Regions from separate parts of the Homo sapiens genome. Here all the other regions are linked to region 1. The links are contacts of gene promoters, found by promoter capture Hi-C in human tissues and cell types (Jung and others, 2019). All regions are on one chromosome and are shown on one strand. The core of a region is centred on a gene start or on the middle of the fragment in contact, and the rest is flanking DNA. Distances in the headings are between cores, read along the strand shown.

What was found. Contacts are between HindIII fragments. The study calls those that stand out against the background at their distance.
Region 2: a contact is called between a fragment that was not itself captured here and the fragment with the promoter of ZNF737 in region 1, in 1 of the 25 tissues and cell types used here (dorsolateral prefrontal cortex).
Region 3: a contact is called between a fragment that was not itself captured here and the fragment with the promoter of ZNF737 in region 1, in 1 of the 25 tissues and cell types used here (bladder).
Region 4: a contact is called between a fragment that was not itself captured here and the fragment with the promoter of ZNF737 in region 1, in 1 of the 25 tissues and cell types used here (dorsolateral prefrontal cortex).

The regions. Positions count from the first base shown.
Region 1 is chr19:20,562,718-20,567,749 of GRCh38, reverse strand. It overlaps ZNF737 (zinc finger protein 737), which reads left to right and starts at 1,969. Exons shown (of 4, transcript NM_001159293.2): 1 at 1,969-2,112. The coding sequence starts at 2,110. All of the region lies in intron 2 of LOC105372316 (a long non-coding RNA gene), which reads right to left. RefSeq lists enhancers at 2,117-2,166, 2,377-2,536. The HindIII fragment of the contact is 4,540 bases long and covers 126-4,665 here.
Region 2 is chr19:21,044,409-21,049,440 of GRCh38, reverse strand. All of the region lies in intron 4 of ZNF430 (zinc finger protein 430), which reads right to left. Among named protein-coding and RNA genes, the nearest start is that of ZNF430, 26 kb to the right of the region's middle. The HindIII fragment of the contact is 4,960 bases long and covers 506-5,032 here.
Region 3 is chr19:21,026,970-21,032,001 of GRCh38, reverse strand. All of the region lies in intron 2 of ZNF430 (zinc finger protein 430), which reads right to left. Among named protein-coding and RNA genes, the nearest start is that of ZNF430, 8.8 kb to the right of the region's middle. The HindIII fragment of the contact is 6,523 bases long and covers 1-5,032 here.
Region 4 is chr19:21,009,184-21,014,215 of GRCh38, reverse strand. No RefSeq gene overlaps it. Among named protein-coding and RNA genes, the nearest start is that of ZNF430, 9.0 kb to the left of the region's middle. The HindIII fragment of the contact is 6,310 bases long and covers 1-5,032 here.

The DNA of each region.
Region 1 (5,032 bases), core at 720-3,219:
TTTTTTCAGCGATAGGCTGATAGCTTTGAGCTTTATCAGTCAAGACATTGACTGGCATTGGGCCAGTCTGGAAGTCAGATTAGCATTTTCCTTTTCCGCTTACATTTATCTTGTAGCAACCAGCCCCTATCACGATACATTAACTTATAAGCAGTAAGCAAACACCATCCACTCCGGGAGATCCCTCAGCATCTCCTTTGCTGACTGGAATCCCCCGCAGCACTTCCCGCACAGTCAAAGGTTTAAACTGCACTAATTTAGATTCCCAATTCCCACAAAAACCAGTTCCCCTTGACCATTTAATCACCAAGAGGGAGAACTGGGGGAGTTCCCATCCCAGGATATGGGAAGTCCCTGAGCCCTCCAGCCCTGTCCTTCTAGTCAAAAAGGGGTACACTTTTGTTTTCAAATCCTATTTGTGATGCCAAAAATGTTCTGTGAGGCAAATGTGAGAGGGGAGAAACAAAGACACACACACAATACCATTAAGGGTAAACAACTTTTATCCCACGTAAATGGCAATGCAGACATAATAAAGTAATAATATAATAAGCAAATGATATAATAAGCAAATAAATATAATAAGCAGATTGATGTAATAAGCCAATCTTAATAAGACGAGGAAATGGGAAAAGATATATATATATATATATATATATATATATATATATTTTCCCTCACCAGACTATGGGGGATTCACCACCAGAGAGGGAGGCAACAGCCACAGCTCTAGAGTCAGCCACCCGTCCATCGTACACAGACAAGGAGAGGTCTTATGAAGCTTCAGGGCGGTCTGGGACCTTAGCTCTTTTGTAACGAGTTGTTTGGCATAAGGCCCAGTGATGAGAGCCCTTCACGACTTGCCTCAAGGAACACAAAAAGGTCAACCTTTTTTTGTGATTGTCTATTGTTTTTCAACAACTAATATATAGGAATAGATTGAAATAGAGATTTCTTCAATACAGCGCTGGATGAACACCTCAGGGGCTCACACAACCTGTTCTGGGACTTGGTGACAATTGTTTGTGTCCACATTCAATTGAGTTCAGATTTAATATGTGACTTTTCCTCCACAAATTCCCCTGTCTTGATGAATCGGCTCTGTCTAGGCAAAGGGTAAAATAAACCCCTTGGGCTGTTACACAACCTCCGCCTCCTGGCTTCAAGTGATTCTCCTGCCTCAGCCTCCGGTGTAGCTGGGACTACAGATGTGCACCCCCACACCCAGGTAACTTTTTATATTATTAGTTATTATTATTATTTATTAGTTATTATTAGAGATGGGGTTTCACCATGTTGGCTAGGCTTGTCTTGAACTCCTGACCTCAAGTGATCTGCTCACCTTGGCCTCCCAAAGTGTTGGAATTACCAGCGTGAACTATCCGTGCCTGCCTCTAAATGATTTCTATCTCCTATAGCTGTTGGAAATTAAAGATTGTTTCAAATTGAAAAAATAAAAAGAATGTGGACAAAAATAAAATATAAATAGTTTTTTAAAATTACGAGATATTACAAAATATATATGTAAATCTGGAGTGCTCAAAAATGACAAATTTGATTTATTTATAAGGTTTTATTAAAATTAGCTTTAATAGATTTTACCATTACCAAAGTAAAAGTTGATTTTCTGTTGAACAAAAATTTTATGTATTATTAATGACAGCAAAATACTTCTGTTCACCTTTTTAATACATTCAACAAGAAAGAGAGTAAACAAGAGATAAAATATTCCCATGCTCTGGGGTGGGCCTGGCTCAGCTCAGGGAGGAAGCACTGTTTGAAAAGCCAGCTGCTTAGGCTGGCACTCTTTGTTCACTTAACCCAGCATCTGATCATATCTTCTGTCACTCAGGGCCTGAGGGGGCGGGGATTTAAGCATTATCCAATCAGGGACGCTGGGCTGGAAGCCGTCCAATCAGGCACGCAGCCAGAGTGAAGCGGAAGGCTTCCGGGTTTTGCGGGGCCTTTGTCTCTGCAGCCGGAGCTCCAGGTCTTGTCTTCACTGCTGTGTGTCCTCTGCTCCTAGAGGCCCAGCCTCTGTGGCCCTGTGTCCTGCAGGTATTGGGAGATCCACAGCTAAGACGCCCGGGAGCCCCTGGAAGCCTAGAAATGGTGAGAGTGCCGGTCCGACATCCCGAGAGAGGGGGATAGGCTGGTTGGAACCGGTGGGAAGTGGCTGTGGCGGGACTCAGGCCTCTGCGCAGTCAGCTCCACAATCTGCACCCTGAGTTCTCCTTGCCCAGCTCGGCCTCAGTCCCGTTCAGCCATAATTTGGCGGCTACGCTGACAGCCGGGCCCCCTGGCGTCCTGTGTCTTCCCTGCGTAGTGACTGCTCTGGCCTGGAGCGCTCCGTGGGCAGCTCTGCAACCGCAGCCTCCCGTCTCTCCCAGAATGTGCAGGGACCACCAGAGGGTCGTCAGGGGAGAATCCTGACTCGGGGTGCAGGTTCATGAATGGGAAGAGCTTTGGTCCGTGGAGTTCACAGTTTCTGTTTTCTGCTATTCAAAATTTATGGGGCCGGGCGCAGTCGTTCACGCCTGTAATCCCAGCACTTTGGGAGGCCGAGGCAGGCGGATAACTTGAGGTCAGGACTTCAAGATAAGCCTGGCCCAAATGGGGAAACCCCATGTCTACTAAAAATGCAAAAATTAGCTGGGTGTGATGACAGATGTCTGTAATCACAGCTTCTCGGGAGGCAGAAGTGAGAGAATCGCTTGAACTCCGGAGGTGGATGTTGCAGTGAGCTGAGATCTTGCCACTGCACTCCAGCCTGCGCGACAGTGAGACTCCGTCTCAAAAAAAAAAAAAAAATTCCTGGTTATGTAATTACAGTTTAATTGGCAGTTTATAGTTGCTTAAGCCTGAATTTTGTTTCCCCTAATGTAGTAATTTCCCAAAAAATGCACATGAGCTTAGATTTTTTTTTTTTTGAGGTAGAAATCCAGGGACTAGAGCTTCTTCAGTCTAATTGCCTGCCACTTAATTATTTTCACACGCCACAGCGGACTGATTTTCCCTGGCATTTTCCACATGTGTCTCAAGCAAGGCCTCAAGTGTACCCCATGTTCCTCAATTTATTATTTTTATTTTTTTTTTTTTGAGACGGAGTCTCGCTCTGTCGCCAGAGCTGGAGTGCAGTGTCAGATCTCGGCTCACTGCAACCTCCGCCTCTCAGGTTCAAGCATTCTTCTGCTTCAGCCTCTGGAGTAGTTGGGGCTATGGGCACGCGACACCACGCCCAGCTAATTTTTGTATTTTTAGTAGAGATGGAGTTTCAGTATGTTAGCCAGGAATGCTAGTTACCAAGGAAAAAAATAGGGAAAATCTCTCTTCCATTTTGGCTGTAGACAATGAATATATTTCCACAGGAAAATGTGGTAGATAATTGATGAGTTACATAGATTCGTCAACACATTAGTTCCTCTTTTTGCAGGGGAAATTTGTGACAGTGAATATCTCAGTTCTATATCCTGTTGAGTTCTGAGTTAAATGCTAAATTATATGTGATGAAACATGGTACCTTCTAGAAGTGTTCCCATATGACTAATTTTTTACTACATTATTTTATTTATTTACTTTTTTTTTGAAACAGAGTCTCGCTCTGTCAACAGGTTGGAGTGCAGTGGCGTGATCTCGGCTTACTGCAGCCTCCACCTCCTGGGTTCAAGCAATTCTCCTGCCTCAGCCTCCTGAGTAGCTGGGATTACAGGCACGTGCCACCACACCCAGCTAATTCTTTTGTATTTTAAGTAGAGAGGGGGTTTCAACATGTTGGCCAAAATGGTCGTGATCTTCTGACATCGTGATCTACCTGCCTCGGCCCTCCAAAGTGCTGGGATTACAAGCATGATTTGCCGCACCAGGCCTACTTATTTTTAAGATAAATAATAAAATAATACATATATTTTCTGAAAGAAGTAGATATATTTACTTTTCTTATGGAGGTATCACATGCAAGCACCTTAGCCAGGTGCAGTGGCTCACGCCTGTCATCTCAGCACTTTGGGAGGCCGAGGTGAGTGGATCACTTGAGGTCAGGAGTTTGAGACCAGCCTGCCCAACATGATGAAACCCCATCTCTACTAAAAATACAAAAATTAGCCGGGTGTGGTGGCATACGCCTGTATTCCCAACAACATGGGAGGCTGAGGCACAAGAAGGTCTTGAACCGGGGAGGCAGAGGTTGCAGTGAGCCAAGATCATGCCATTGAACTCCAGCCTGGGCCACAGGGTGACTCCGTCTCAAAAAAAAAAAAAAAAAAAGTAAGCACTTCCTTCTTATGTAAACACTGTGTTTGAGTAATTTCCCTGGATTTTTCTAACACTTAGTTTCAAAAACCAAGTGAATAACTCTGACATGGAAATCAAAGCTTGAACCTAGTGACTCCAAGCTAAGGCTGATATTAAGCCTGCAACAGGATGTTACTAAAGACTCAGTTTTTTTCTGGGGAGCCTCCCCTGCACATGTCCCAGCCTGCTCACCCCAGCCATAGAAGGAGGCTTTATCCTGAGAGAAGCTACAGAGCCCTGGAAAGCTGGGGCCCCACAGGCAGATGCAGCTGAGGTTAAGATGAAAGGAAACTTAGAGGGTCTTATTGATGATGAAGTTGTTATGTTTTGTGGCACTTTCTACACTTTGTAAAATAAAAAATATTAATTTATGTTAAAAAAATGAATTCCAAAAAAAATTGCAACAGCAGAAAATACCAACTAATTTAAGATCTTTATGGCTTGCAAAGATGTAAGCAGAAAAGGGCTTTCTTTTTTAGGGAGGAGCAAACAAGATTAGAAAGGAGGTGGGAGGTGAATGGCAAACGGAGAGTGAAAAAGTCATATTTTAGATCAGAGGATGTCTTACCCTGAAATCAGCATGTTCTTAGGAGGGACATAAAATGGGGTTGTATGCTGACTCAGACTGAGGGTAGCTCAAAGTTCAGGAGCCTGAGGGAGGGAGATAAGCTTAAGAAGAGTTCGATTAAGGGATATTTTATTTTAGGCTAAGTGTGGTGGCTCATGCCTGTAAACCCAGCAC
Region 2 (5,032 bases), core at 1,736-4,235, 480 kb before region 1:
ACAGCATCATAAAACCATATATAAAGCTCCCTATTAAATATAAATATACAGATACATATAGAATTTTTTACTATCATAATGGTGCATAAAACCGTTAAAGTTCTGTAGATATAAAAATACAAGATATAAATCTGTTAATAGATACATAATATAATTTGTAGTATCAATAACAAACTGGAAAACATAGCAGTATAGGTTTTGTATTTAATTAAAGTTTAAGAAGTTAAAATATATCTTTTTTACTTTTTTTTTTTTTTTTTTTTTTTTGAGATGGAGTCTTGCTCTGTCACCCAGGCTGGAGTGCAGTGGCGCAATCTCGGCTCACTGCAACCTCTGTCATCTGGGTTCAAGTGATTATCCTGCCTCAGTCTCAGATGTCCTCCACCACATACCTAATTTTTGTATTTTTAGTAGAGACAGTTTCACCATGTTGGCCAGGCTGGTCTCAAACTCCTGACCTCAGGTGATCTATCCATCTCAGCCTCCCAAAGTGTTGGGATTACAGGTGTGAGCCACCATGCTTGGCCTTATTTTTTTAACTTTAAGATATTTTATGCCCCATCTGGGAGGGAGGTGGGGGGCAGCCCCTGCCCGGCCAGCCACCCCGTCCAGGAGGGAGGTTGGGGCCAGCACCCGCCCGGCCAGCCGCCCCGTCCGGGAGGTGGGGGGCGCCTCTGCCCGGCCGCCCCTTCTGGGAAGTGAGGAGCCCCTCTGCCCAGCCGCCACCCCGTCTGGGAGGTGTACCCAACAGCTCATTGAGAACGGGCCATGATGACGATGGCGGTTTTGTCGAATAGAAAAGGGGGGAATGTGGGGAAAAGATAGAGAAATCAGATTGTTGCTGTGTCTGTGTAGAAAGAAGTAGACATAGGAGACTCCATTTTGTTCTGTACTAAGAAAAATTCTTCTGCCTTGGGATGCTGTTAATCTATAACCTTACCCCCAACCCCATGCTCTCTAAAACATGTACTGTGTCCACTCAGGGTTAAATGGATTAAGGGCGGTGCAAGATGTGCTTTGTTAAACAGATGCTTGAAGGCAGCATGCTCGTTAAGAGTCATCACCACTCCCTAATCTCAAGTACCCAGGGACACAAACACTGCGGAAGGCCGCAGGGTCCTCTGCCTAGGAAAACCAGAGACCCTTGTTCACTTGTTTATCTGCTTACCTTCCCTCCACTATTGTCCTATGACCCTGCCAAATCCCCCTCTGCGAGAAACACCCAGGAATGATCAATAAATACTAAAAAAAAAAAAAAAAAAAAAAAAAAAAAAAAGATGTTTTATGTAATCTCCATTTTAAGATGATTACATTATACTTCAAGGTGATTACATAATATTTATAAAAAGTATGCAAAAAATGAAAAAATAATCAAAGCATGTAACGATAAAGTTAACAAAAATAAAGGTAGTAAAACAGGAAATGAGAAAAAACTTATCTACAAGAAATACATAAAACAGGAACAATGAGGTGGTTTCTGCAGATCAGCAGACTTAGTCTTTCCCCCTGCTGGCTCTGAGCAATCCAGGCAGTACAGATGTATGGAATTTCCCTCAGTGCAGCACAGCCACTCCACCAAGGTGCAGCCAGAGTGCTTTCTTAAGTGGTTCCCAGATCTCATGCATCCTGACTGGGTGAGACCCCCACAACAGACATCGTCAGACAACTTATAAAGTAGTGTTCCCACTGTCATCAGATCATTCCCCTTCTGGGACAAAGACCCCAGAGGAAGGAGCAAGCAGTCCTCTCTGCTATTCTGCAGGCTCCACTGGTTGACACCTCCAGGTGTGAGAGAAACCCAGGCAAATAGGGTCTGAAGTAGATCCCAAGCAAATCACAACAGTGCTACAGAAAAGTGGCCTGATGGTTAGAAAAACAAACAGAAAGCAACAACAAAAACAGCATGAACAAAAAAATCCTCACAAGCATCCCATCCAAAGGTCAGCAGCCTCAAAGATCGAAGCTAGAAAAACTCACAAAGATGAAAAGAATAAACCAAAAAATGCTGAAAACTTAAAAAGCCAGAGTGCCTCCTTTCCTCCAAATGATCCCAGCATATCTCCAGGAAGGGCACAGAACTGGGCGGTGGCTAAGGTGGATAAATTGACAAAAGTAGGCTTCAGAAGGTGGGTAATGATGAACTTTGCTGAGCTAATGGAGTATGTTCTAACCCAATGCAAAGAAGCTAAGAACCATGAAAAACATTACAGGAGCTGTTAACCAAAACAACCAATTTAGAGAGGAACATAAATGACCTGATGGAACTGAAAAACACAGCATCAGAACTTCACAACGCAACCACAAGTATCAATAACTGAGTAGACGAAGCAAGGAAAGAACTTCAGAGCTTGAAGACAATCTTGCTGAAATAAAACAGGCAGACAAGATTGAAGAAAAAAGAATAAACGGGAATGAGAGAAATCTCTGAGGTCTATGAGATTATGTAAAAAGACCGAACCTATGACTGACTGGGGTACCTTAAATAGATAGGGAGAATGGAACCAAGTTAGAAAACATCCTTCAGGATATCATCCAGAAGAACTTTTCCAACCTAACAAGAAAGGCCAACATTCAAATTCAGAAAATCCAGAAAACCCCAGTAAGATACTCCATGAGAAGATCATCCCCAAGACACATAATAATCAGATTCTTCAAGATTGAAATTCAGGAATAAATGATAAGGCAGCCAGAGAGAAACGCCACATCACCTATAGACAAAAGTTCATCAGACTGACAACAGACCTTTAAGCAGAAACCCTACAAGCCGTAAGAGATTGGGGGCCACTACTCAACATTCTTAAAGAAAAGAATTTCCAACCAAGAATATCCAGGAAAACTAAGCTTCATAAGTAAAGGAGGAATAAAATCATTTTCAGACAAGTAAACGCTGAAGGAATTCATCACCACCAGGCCTGCCTTGCAAGAGCTCCTGAAAGAAGCACTAAACATGGAAAGAAAAAAACCATTACTAGCCACTACAAAAACACACTGAAGTACAAAGACCAATGACACTATGAAAAAACTACATCAAAGAGTCTTCAAAATAACCAGATAGCACCATGAAAACATAATCAAATTCACACATAGCAATATTAACCTTAAACTTTTTTTTTTTTTTTTTTTGAGATGGAGTCTTGTTCTGTCACCCAGGCTGGAGTGCAGTGCACAATCTTGACTAACTGCAACATCTGCCTCCCAGGTTCAAGCAATTCTGCCTCAGCTTCCTGAGCAGCTGGGATTACAGATGAGCACTACCATGACAGGCTAATTTTTATATTTTTAGTAGAGGCGGGGTTTCACCATGTTGGCCAGGCTGGTCATGAACTCCTGACCTCAGGTGATTCACCTGCCTCAGCCTCCCAAAGTGCTGGGATTACAGGCATAAGCCACCGTGGCTGGCCTAATCTTAAATTTAAATGGGCTAAATGCCCTCATTAAAAGACACAGAATGTCAAGCTGATTAAAGAGTCAAGACCCATTGGTGTGCCATATTCAAGAAACCCATCTCACATGCAAAGACACACACATGCTTAAAATGAAGGAATGGAGGAAAATTCACCAAGCAAATAAAAGAAGAAAAAAGGAGGAGTTGCAATTGTAGTTTCTGACAAAATAGACTTTAAACCAACAAAGATCAAAACAGAAAAAGAAGGGCATTACATAATGCTAAAGGAATCAATTCAAGGAGGACCCAGATTTATAAAACACATTATTAGAGACCTACAAAGGGACTTAAACAAACTCCCACACAATAATAGTGGGAGACTTTAACACCCTACTGCCAATATTAGACCAACAATTGAGACAGAAAAGTAACAAAGATATTCAGGACTTGAACTCAGCTTTGGGTCAAATGGACCTGATAGATATCTACAGAACTCTCCAGCCAAAAACAACACAATACACATTCTCCTAAGTGTCACATGGCACTTACTTTAAAATTGATCACATAATTGGAAGGAATACTCCTTAGCAAATGCAAAAGAACTGAAATCATAACAGTCTCTCAGACCACAGTGCAATCAAATTGGAACTCAAGAGTAAGAAACTCACTCAAAACCACACAAGTACATGGAAATTGAACAACCTGCTCCTGAATGACTTCTGGGTAAATAATAAAATTAAATCAGAAACCAAGAAATTCTTTGAAACCAATGAGAACAAAGAGACTATGTACTAGAATCTGTAGAATGCAGCTAAAGCAGTGTTAAGGGGAAAATTTATAGCACTACATAGCCACAGCAAAAAGCTGGAAAGATCTCAAAATGACACCCTAACATTACAATTAAAAGAACAAGAGAATCAAGAGCAAACAAACCCCAAAGCTAACAGAAGACAAGACATAAGAAGAATCCAAGTGAAACTGAAAGAGATAGAGACACAAAAAACCCTTCAAAAAACCAATAAATCCAGGAGCTATTTTTTTTGAAAACATTAATAAAATAGAACACTAACTAGAGTAATGGAGAACAAAAGAGAGAAGAAGAAATAGACACAATACAAAATCATAAAGAGGATATCACCACTGACCCCACAGAAATACAAACCATCAGAAAATACTATAAACACCTGTATGCACATAAACTGAAAAAGCTAGAAGAAGTAGATAAATTACTGGACACAAACACCCTCCCAAGACCAAACCAGGAAAAATTTGAATCCTGAATAGACCAATAAGAAGTTCTGGAATTGAGGAAGTAATAAATAGCCTACAAACTAAAAATGCCCAGAGGCAGATGGATTTACAGCTGAATTCTACCAGAGGTACAAAGAGGAGTTGGTACCATTTCTTCTGAAACTATTCCAAATGATAGAAAAAGAGGGACTCCACTCTAACTCATTTTATAAGATCAGCATCATTCTGATACCAAGATCTGGCAAAGATATAACAACAACAAGAAACTTCAAGCCAATATCCCTGATAAACATTGATGCAAAAATTCTCAATAAAACACTGGCAAACCAAATCCAGCAGCACATCGAAAAGCTTATCCACCGCGATCAAGTCAGCTTCATCCCTGGGATGCAAGGC
Region 3 (5,032 bases), core at 1,441-3,940, 460 kb before region 1:
TTTATGGTAGGAATTCTGCGTGGCATATAAGAAGCCATGATGTAGAGAATGTAGAGAAAGCTCTGGTATATAGTAAAGAAATGTTTTGCAGACAGCCTTGAATATTATAAGAATTTTTTAATGTAGTTAAAACAAACTCCTTAAGAAGGAAAAACACAAATCGAGAAGTAAAGATTTGCAAGTACTAAACACATGGCATTCCATGAAGCAGAGTGCACACAGCTCTTCTTCTGAGACACGTTTAGCTGAAAAAAAGCCATTTTTTCTCTTTCTTTCTCTGAAAATCCTTTTTAGATAACATTCTCTGGACAAGTTATACCTGCATTTTGAGAACGTTCCTTTAAAAATGTCAGCACCACCTTTTTGTCTGCTACCATCACGCACACAAACAGAAGGAAGGTCCTGCAGAAAAAGTCCACCCATTTCTCTGTCCTTTATAACAGAAAGGATTCAGGAACAACGAGCTGCTCTATGAATATAAAAGTATGTTTCTCTTTTCCTGTCCTTAGGTGCCCTCCTCTGCCACAGACACCAGCAATTTCTGCTACAGTAATGGAAATATGAGCCACACTCCCCTGTCCCTACCAAACCCAAACAGAACGGGCCCTGAGACCACCCTTTAGTGCAAAGGTGGCACTTAGCTCTCATGAATGTATATTGAAGCCCTCATACTTGATTCTGGCCTCACCTTAGAGTCACATGAGGCACTTCATTAAAACAACATGGATGCTTCCACCCAGAACAATAAACGAAATCCATGGAAAGGGCATAAGTACAGAGATTTCTGCCATGTAATCCTAATTAGAAGACTGGGCAGAGGCCGGGCGCGGTGGCTCACACTTGTAATCCTGGCACTTTAGGAGGCCGAGGCACATGGATGACCTGAGGTCAGGAGTTCAAGATCAGCCTGGCCAACATGGTGTAACCTCATCTCTACTAAAAACACAAAAAATTAGCCAGGAATGGTGGCGGGTGCCTGTAATCCCAGCTACTCAGGAGGCTGAGGCATAAGAATGGCTTGAACCCAGGAGGCGGAGGTTTCACTGAGCCGAGATTATGCCATTGCACTCCAGACTGGGTGACAGAGTGAGATCCTGTCTCAAAAACAGAAAACAAAACAAAACAAAAAAAACAAGACGGGGCTGATAACCACTTAGCTAAGCACTGCCTCTCAAACTTTAATGAGCTTAAAACTCGTTTGGTAATTTTGGCCCCACTCTACGTAATGTGGATCTGCAAGTTTGAAAAGGGTTCATGAATGCGTGTTTCAAACAAGTTCCCTGTCAATGCTGATGTTGTTCCCCCTGGGCTCATTAGCATTAGTTAGAGAAGCAGGTACAGCACAGAGTCCCTTACACTTAGCACTCTTGTCACAACACAAATACTTCTGGTACAAATAAAACCAATCTCCATCTTAAATTTTTATATTCTTCGCTGGCTCTTTAAAGTTTACAGAACAAACAGAAGGCGGCAATGTCTGAATAAATCTGCCTTTGGAAAATAACATGTACACATATACAAATGCAATGTTTATTAAGCAGGTACTATGTGCTCAAGGATATGTTACAGAGCACTGTGCTGGGAATAACACATTTTGTGATTTAATCCTAATAACACCCTGGAAGTTGATACTAAGTGTTCAATAATTCCCAGGACTTAGATAAAGGGTTCAGCATTTTTATTTCTCCCTCTGTTTCTCTGTCATTGATTTTGTTTTAAAGGTATAGAATAAAAGTTAAATACAGGCAGATGAGAAGAACATAGAAAAAGTTTAATGTAGTTTAGAGAAATTTTTATTGTGTATACATTTACTTGTTTGTGGCTTGTGGAGCAACTGCTAGATTGGCAGAAACAGAAAACAAGGTGCTAAATGGAATGTTTCTGTAAGCACTGGTTTTAATACAAATTCAAAAAATAAGATCCTAAAATAAATAGTTTATTTCTGTCATTTATCTGTTTTTGGGTTTCAGAAAATTGTGAGCACCAGCTCTAGAAAAGCAGCAGGACTCACCAGACAAAACTCCAGTCTTTTTTTTTTTAGATGGAGTCTCGCTCTGTCACCAGGCTGGAGTGCAGTGGCACAATCTTGGCTCAATGCAACCTCCGCCTCCCGGGTTCAAGCGATTCTCCTGCCCCAGCCTCCTGAGCAGCTGGGATTACAGGCATGTGCCACCACGCCCGGCTAATTTTTGTATTTTTAGTAGAGACGGGGTTTCACCATGTTAGTCAGGCTGGTCTCAAACTCTCGACCTCATGATCTGTCTGCCTCGGCCTCCCAAAGTGTTGGGATTACAGGTGTGAGCCACCACACCCAGCCAAAACTCTGATTTTTATAAATCAGTTTTGTGAGGTAAGGCTCCAGAGCGGGGCCAGACATAAATAAGGCCTCCAAAAAACGTGAATCTGAACAGAATTTGGGCAGGGAAAGGACCCTATGTAGAATTATGTTCTCTCTGCCACCAAGGTATTTCCAGTTCTGTTTTTCCTAAGCTTACATAAGAGAATCTTAAATCCCAGAGCTTATGTAACTTTAATCTATTTTTGCCACTGCCCTGTCAATTTTATAACATATACTAATAAGCAATTTAAACAAATTTATTAAAGTTCTTTAGAATAATTATACTAGAAGATAAATATATATTCTTAGCAAAGTAAAGGAAACACAAATAATAACAAATCTTCACTCCATAAATATCTCCTCAGCTGATGGTATCAGAAGTAACAATATAAAACAGTGGCCCCAATTTTTTTTGGACACATCTATTCATTGTACCAACCATATAATGCTTAATTCACCCATGTATCCAGTTGTTAGTCTAGACATGTTCCTGGATAGTAAGGATCATGACTGCTTCATCTGTTTTTTGAATGGCCATATAAAATGAAAACAATTACTTTATCTGTTTGAGTCACCAGACCTCCTATTGCTTTCATCCAAGTATCAGGAAACTTGAGAAACTCTCATCTGGGTACCAACCAAAGTTATCTCTTGTATAAGGGGAGAAAAAAACACAGAATTGCCAGGCATGGTGGCTCACACCTGTGATCCCAGCATTTTGGGAGGCTGAGGTGGGCGGATCACAAGGTCAGGAGTTCAAGACCAGCCTGTGCAATATGGTGAAACCCTGTCTTTATTAAAAATGCAAAAATTAGCCAGGCATGGTGGCAAGTGCCTGTATTCCCAGCTATTTGGGAGGCTGAGGCAGAAGAGTCACTTGAACCCGGGAGGCGGAGGTTGCAGTGAGCCGAGATCGCGCCACTGCACTCCAGCCTGGGCGATAGAGCAATACTCCGTCTAAAAAAAGAAAAAAAACCCTAAAAAAACCACACACACACAGAATGACTCATTTCTCTTACACCAAGCCAGAAGCAGAATTAACCACTCTTGTCAGCCTGACACAATTCTGCCCTGGACATCCTCAAATGTCTCAAAGACGTCTAGGTGATTGTGAGAGGGTTCTTAGTGACCCTGGGCTGATGGCCCAATGATAATCCAGGCTGGAGAGATTCAGGCTGATTCTAAATAGAAAATGGCCTGGTGGAGCTCCAGAACCTAATCACTTGTCCCAATTTGCTAGCTTTTGGGTAAGGAGAAAGACAAGAATACTCTACTCCAGTATCACATTTTACAGGTAGGTATAGTTGTGGTCATGGCTATGGATACATTATGACTTTGATATCTCACTCTTAAAATGCTGATTCTGTCATCAGATTCTATTTATATCTGGAGCCTCTCACATAACTGTGGCAAATCACTGAACAAGATCTGAAAAGCTTAAAGAACCACACTGTCAAAGGGGGCTTTAAGATGTCTATGTTGACAACTCACAATGGAGAAAATGCCTCCTGTTGGTTTTCTGTACATTCTCAACCTAAAGTCTGGCCGTGTCCTGTAAATCCCAGGAAGAGGCCAGACCTTATGTGCAGATTCTAGGTAGGATCAACCACACTCTGCATTCTTGGGTGTTACAGCAAGTGGAGTACAATCAAAGGAGAGATCCCCTCATAGAGGCTGCTCTAGCTCATTCTACGTGATATGACTACCTAAAAGGAAAAAGCTGAGGCAACATGAATATAAGAGTTTATTTGGGCCAAGCTTGAGAATAGTAACCTGGGAGCAAAGACACATTTTCCAGAGACTGAACAAATAAGAAACTGAATCCCTGAATAGACCAATAACAAGCTCCAAAATTGAATTAGTAAGAAATAGCCTACTAGCCAAAAAAAAGCAAAGAACCAGACAAATTCCTAGCTGAACTCTACCAGATGTACAAAAAAGAGCTAGTACCACTTCTACTAAAAATACTTCAAAATATTGAAAAGAAAGGACTCCTTTTCAACTCATTATATATAAGAATAGCATCATTCTGATATCAAAACCTGGCAGAGATTAAAAAAAAAAGAAAACTTCAAGCCAATATCCTTGATGAACATTGATGAAAATACCATCAACAAAATACTGGGAAACTGAATTCAGAAGAACATCAAAAAGCTAATCCACTATAATCAAGTAGGCTGCATCTCTGGGAGGCAAGTTGGTTCCATATACAATCAATAAATGTTATTCATCACATAAAGAGAACTAATAACAAATACCAAGATTATCTCAATAGATGCTAAAAATACTTTCAATATAATTTAACATTTTTCATGTTTAAAACCCTTAACAAACTAGGCATTGAAGGTATATACTTCAAAACAATGAGACATCAACGACAAACTTACAGCCAACACACTGAATGGACACAAGCTGGAAGCATTCCTCCTTGAAAACTGGCACAAGATAAGGATGCCTTCTCTCAAACATCCTATTCAACATAAAATTGGAAATCCTGGCCAGAGCAATCAGAGAAGAGATGAAAATAAAAGGCATCTGCCGGGCATGGGGGCTCACGCCTGTAATCCCAGCACTTTGGGAGGCTGAGGTGAGCAGATCACGAGGTCAAGAGATCGAGACCATCCTGGCCAACATGGTGAAACCCCGTCTCTCCTAAAAATACAAAACTTAGCTTGGCATGGTGGCATGTGCCTG
Region 4 (5,032 bases), core at 1,271-3,770, 450 kb before region 1:
GCTTCAGTGTAGATGGCAAGCAGACTCAATCTCTGGGTTCTAGACTATAAAGGGTTTTTCTGTCCTCAGTCAATAGACCATAAAAGGTTGTTTACCTGGTGAAAATATGCTTTGCCATAACGCATTAAAGCCTTGCTGCATTTAGTCATATTAAACTTCAGTAACAGAACACACATGAGGTTCTATTATCAGGTACATAAGCCATCCAATTACAAGTTTATAATAGTCAAAACAGTTTTTCACTCTCAGTGAATCTGATTGTCATCAATCTGCAATTACAAAAGCAATCCTGTCAATTTAGTTGGATTTTCTCAATACTATTGTTTCTGGAATAGCTTATTTAACAGTTTATAACTTCTCCAGTGAAATCGGATTTTTTTTTTTTTTTTTCCTGAGACAGAGTCGTACTCTGTCACCCAGGCTGGAGTGCAGTGGCACGATCTCAGCTCACTGCAGCCTTTGCCTCCTGGGTTCAAGTGATTCTCTGCCTCAGCCTACCGAGTAGCTGGGATTACAGGCGCCCACCACCACGCCTGGCTAATTTTTGTATTTTTAGTAAAGACAGGGTTTCACCATCATGGCCAGGCTGGTCTTGAACTCCTGACCTCGTGATCCACCCTTCTTGGCCTCCCAAAGTGCTGGTATTACAGGCATGAGCCACTGCTCCCGGCCGAAATAAGTATATTATTGGAGCCTTTTTCAGAAATGTCTCCTGAGCAAAACATATTTTTTATTATCCTTTAAGCTACTGTTATAACATCAGACTTTTCCCATGAGAAAATTTTTATTCTACAAGAAAATATGCATTAAACATGACAATTGAATAAGATTTCTTTACAAATGTTTAAATAGATCCTCAGGTAGCAGAAATGTACATGAAGCTTTTTTTTTTTTTTTTTTTGAGATGGAGTCTCGCTCTGTCACCCAGGCTGGAGTGCAGTGGCGCGATCTCGGCTCACTGCAAGCTCCATCCCCCGAGTTCATGCCATTCTCCTGCCTCAGCCTCCCGAGTAACTGGGACTACAGGTGCCTGCCACCATGCCCGGCTAATTTTTTTTTTTTTTTTTTGTATTTTTAGAAGAGACGGGGTTTCACCGTGTTCGCCAGGATGGTCTCAATCTCCTGACCTTGTGATCCACCCGCCTTGGTCTCCCAAAGTGTACATGAAGTTTGGATTGTCTTCTCAGGATTATATGTTTGAGAGGAAAAAAACGGTCCTAACCTATTTTGGTAGTTAGGACAGTCACCACACACACACACACACACACACACACACACACACACACACATTTAATTTATATTTAACTTAGATTATTATTATGTATTTTTTTGAGATGGAGTTTCACTCTTATTGCCCAGGCTGGACTGCAATGGCACCATCTCAGCTCGCTGCAACCTCTGCCTCCCAGGTTCAAGTGATTCTCCTGCCTCAGCCGCCCAAGTAGCTGGGATTACAGGAGTGCACCACCACACCCAGCTAATTTTGTATTTTTAGTAGAGACAGAGTTTCTCCGTGTTGGTCAGGCTGGTCTTGAACTCCTGACCTCAGGTGATCTGCCCACCTCGGCCTCTGAAAGTGCTGGGATTACAGGCATGAGCCACTGTGCCCCGCCAACTTAGACTATTTTTTATCTCTTCTGTGGCGAGTGATAAAATGCAGTGCTTTTGATAAAGGAAGCTTTAAGAACTCAGGAATGAAAAAAGTCACTGCTGTCTAGGTTCTCTATGAGTTCACACTTAACATTAAATTTATGTCCTCTTAAATATCAAGTTTGTTTCTTCAATTTAGGTTCATAGCACTGATAACTGAGAGGTTATCATAGGTAATCTGACTTGGAACACACAGTTTACTCAAATGGCACATCTAAAAAATTTCAGTACTGGCTGATTTAGTATAAAAATGTGGCAGAGTATTTTCATAATGTATAATTCATTTTTGTTTTGCCTGGATTACTAGTTTTATTTTTTATATATATTTTTTGAGACAGAGTCTCACTCTGTGGCTCAGGCTGGAGTGCAATGGCACAATTTTGGCTCAATGCAACCTCCGCCTCCCAGGTTAAAGTGATTCTCCCCTCAGCCTCCCAAGTAGCTGGGACTACAGGCATGCACCACTATGCCTGGCTAATTTTTGTATATATATATATTTTTTTAAGTCTCTTTTTTTTCCCCATAAGTTACTGGGCTACAGGTGGTATTTGGTTACATTAGTATGTTCTTTAGTGGTGATTTGTGAGATTTTGTTGCACCCATCACCTGAGCAGTAGAGCAGTATACACTGCACCATATTGGTAGTCTCTATCCCTCATCCCCCTCCTACTCTTTCCCCAACATCCCCAAAGTCCATTGCATCATTCTTATGCCTTTGTGTCCTCATAGCTTAGCTCCCACATCTCAGTGAGGACATTCAATGTTTGATTTTCCATTCCTGAGTGACTTCACTTAGAATAATAGTCTCCAATGTTATCCAGGTCACTGCAAATGTTAATTCATTCCTTTTTATGGCTGAGTAGTATTCCATTGTGTGTGTGTGTGTGTGTGTGTGTGTGTGTGTATATGATGATATATATATATGATGTGTATATATATATATGTATATATGATATGATTCTTTCCTTCATCTTAACGTTAGATAACCTGATGACAATGTGATTAGGTGATGATCTTTTTGTGATGAATTTCTCAGGTATTCTTTGTGCTTTTTGTATTTGAATGTCTAGGCCTCTGGCAAAACCAGGTAAGTTTTCTTCAATTATTTCCCCAAATATGTTTTCCAAACTTTTAGATTTTTCTTCTTTTTCAGAAAAACCAATTATTCAGGCTTCTTTAAGGTTTTGTTCATTTTTTTTTGTCTTTGCTGGATTGTGTTAATTTGAAGATCTTGTCTTTGATCTCTGAATTTCTTTCTTCTACTTGTTCAATTCTATTGCTGAGACTTTCCAGAGCATTTTGCATTTTTATAAGTGTGTCCAATATTTCCTGAGGTTCTGATTGTTTTTTCTTTATGCTATTTCCTTGCATATTTATCCCTTATTTTTATTTTATTTACTTATTCATTATTATTTTTTATTATTTTTATTTATTATTATTTTTTGAGATAGAGTTTCACTCTTGTTGCCCAGGCTGGAGTGCAATGGCACAATCTTGGCTCACCACAACCTCTGCCTCCCGGGTTCAAGCGATTCTCCTGCCTCAGCCTCCTGAGTAGCTGGGATTACAGGCATGCTCCACCACACCTGGCTAATTTTGTATTTTTAGTAGAGATAGGGTTTCTTCACGTTGGTCAGGCTAGTCTCGAACTCCCGACCTCAGGTGATCCATCCACCTCAGCCTCCCAGAGTGCTGGGATTACAGGCATGAGCCACCAACCCAGCCTATTTTTAATTTTTTTGAGATGGAGTCTTGCTCTGTCGACCAGGCTAGAGTGCAATGGCGCAATCTTGGCTCACTACAACCTCTGCCTCCCGGGTTCAAGTGATTCTCCTGCCTCAGCCCCCTGAGTAGCTGGGATTAAAGGCTTGCACCACCACGCCTGGCTAATTTTTGTATTTTTACTAGAGACGGGGTTTCACCATGTTGGTCAGGCTGGTCTGGAACTCCTGACCTCGTGATCTGCCCACCTCTGTTGTAGCAGGATGAGACACAGACAAGAACCCCTCAGACACCGAGTTGCAGAAGGAAAGGGCTTTATTCAGCTGGCAGCATTGGAAGACTCACATCTCCAAAAACTGAGCTCCCTGAGTGAGCAATTCCTGTCCCTTTCAAGGGCTTACAACTATAACGGGGTCCGCCTGAAAAGGTCATGATTGATTGAGCAAGCAGAGGGTATGTGACTGGGGGCTGCATGTACCACTAGTCAGAACAGAACAGAACAGGATAGGGATTTTCATGATGCTTTTCCATACAATGTCTGAAATCTATAGATAACACAAGCAGTTAGGTCAGGGGTGGATTTTTAACTAGCAGGCCCAGGGCATGATGCTGGGCTATCTGCCTGTGGATTCCATTTCTGCCTTTCAGTTTTCACTTCTTCTTTCTTTGGAGGCAGAAACTAGGCATAAGACAATATGAGGGGTGGTCTCCTCCCTTTTTCCCCCCGTTTGAGAACCTCTCTCATTAGTGGAAGTTCTCACCTTTATCCTCACTACTCATGTCTTCCTGTAAGACAGATCGATAGTGATTCATATAGTACACTTGTGCTGAAGCATTTTGGTGAACTAAGGTAGCGATGAAGCTTTTTATCATTTGAAGAAGTACATAGCAAACAAGGGAGCAGTAAGCATGTTTTTATTACTATTATAACTCCTACTATAAGAGTTTTAAATCCTCCTAGTGCTGGGAACCATTTTTCAAACATGGCCCCAGGATTAAATCCATGCCACACTTGCGCAGGCACATGTGCCAGTTTTGTCATGTCTCTAACTATGTCTTCAACTACTTGCCCTTGGTCATCTATGTGTAGACAGCAATTAGTAAGGTTAAATTTCCCACAGACCCCTCCTTTAGCTGTTAGCAAGTAGTCTAGGGCTAGTCTATATTTATAGATAGCATTTCTCATCTGGGTTTCTTGCTGGGCTAAAACAGTTGAAGCTCTGCCAGTTTTATTAGTGATTATTTCTAAGACAGCTTGTAATCGTATGATTCAGTTGAGCATATAAATGGGGATTCGGTATCCCCATGAGCTGTCTTGTGCCTAAGTGGCAGGCCCATAGTACTGTATGATTCTTTCAGGGGGCCACTTGTCATCTTTTCAGTCGCCTATAGCTATGCTTCTCTTTTCTCGGGAAGCATAGACCAGGAAACCTAGAAGTTCGCCTGTTTTTATGGGCAGTAGGAAAAAAGATGGGTTATAGCACACATCAGGCTGGTCATTTCGTGGGCTACATACCTTGTATAGAATAGCATTATACAAACAAGTTCCTTTTAGAGTCCTGGTACACTTAAAATAACCATAAAATAATAGGACTGTAGCAAACTTTTGTCCTACCTCAGTGACTTGATGTATATATTGGGAACAGTCCTCAGTCTGAGG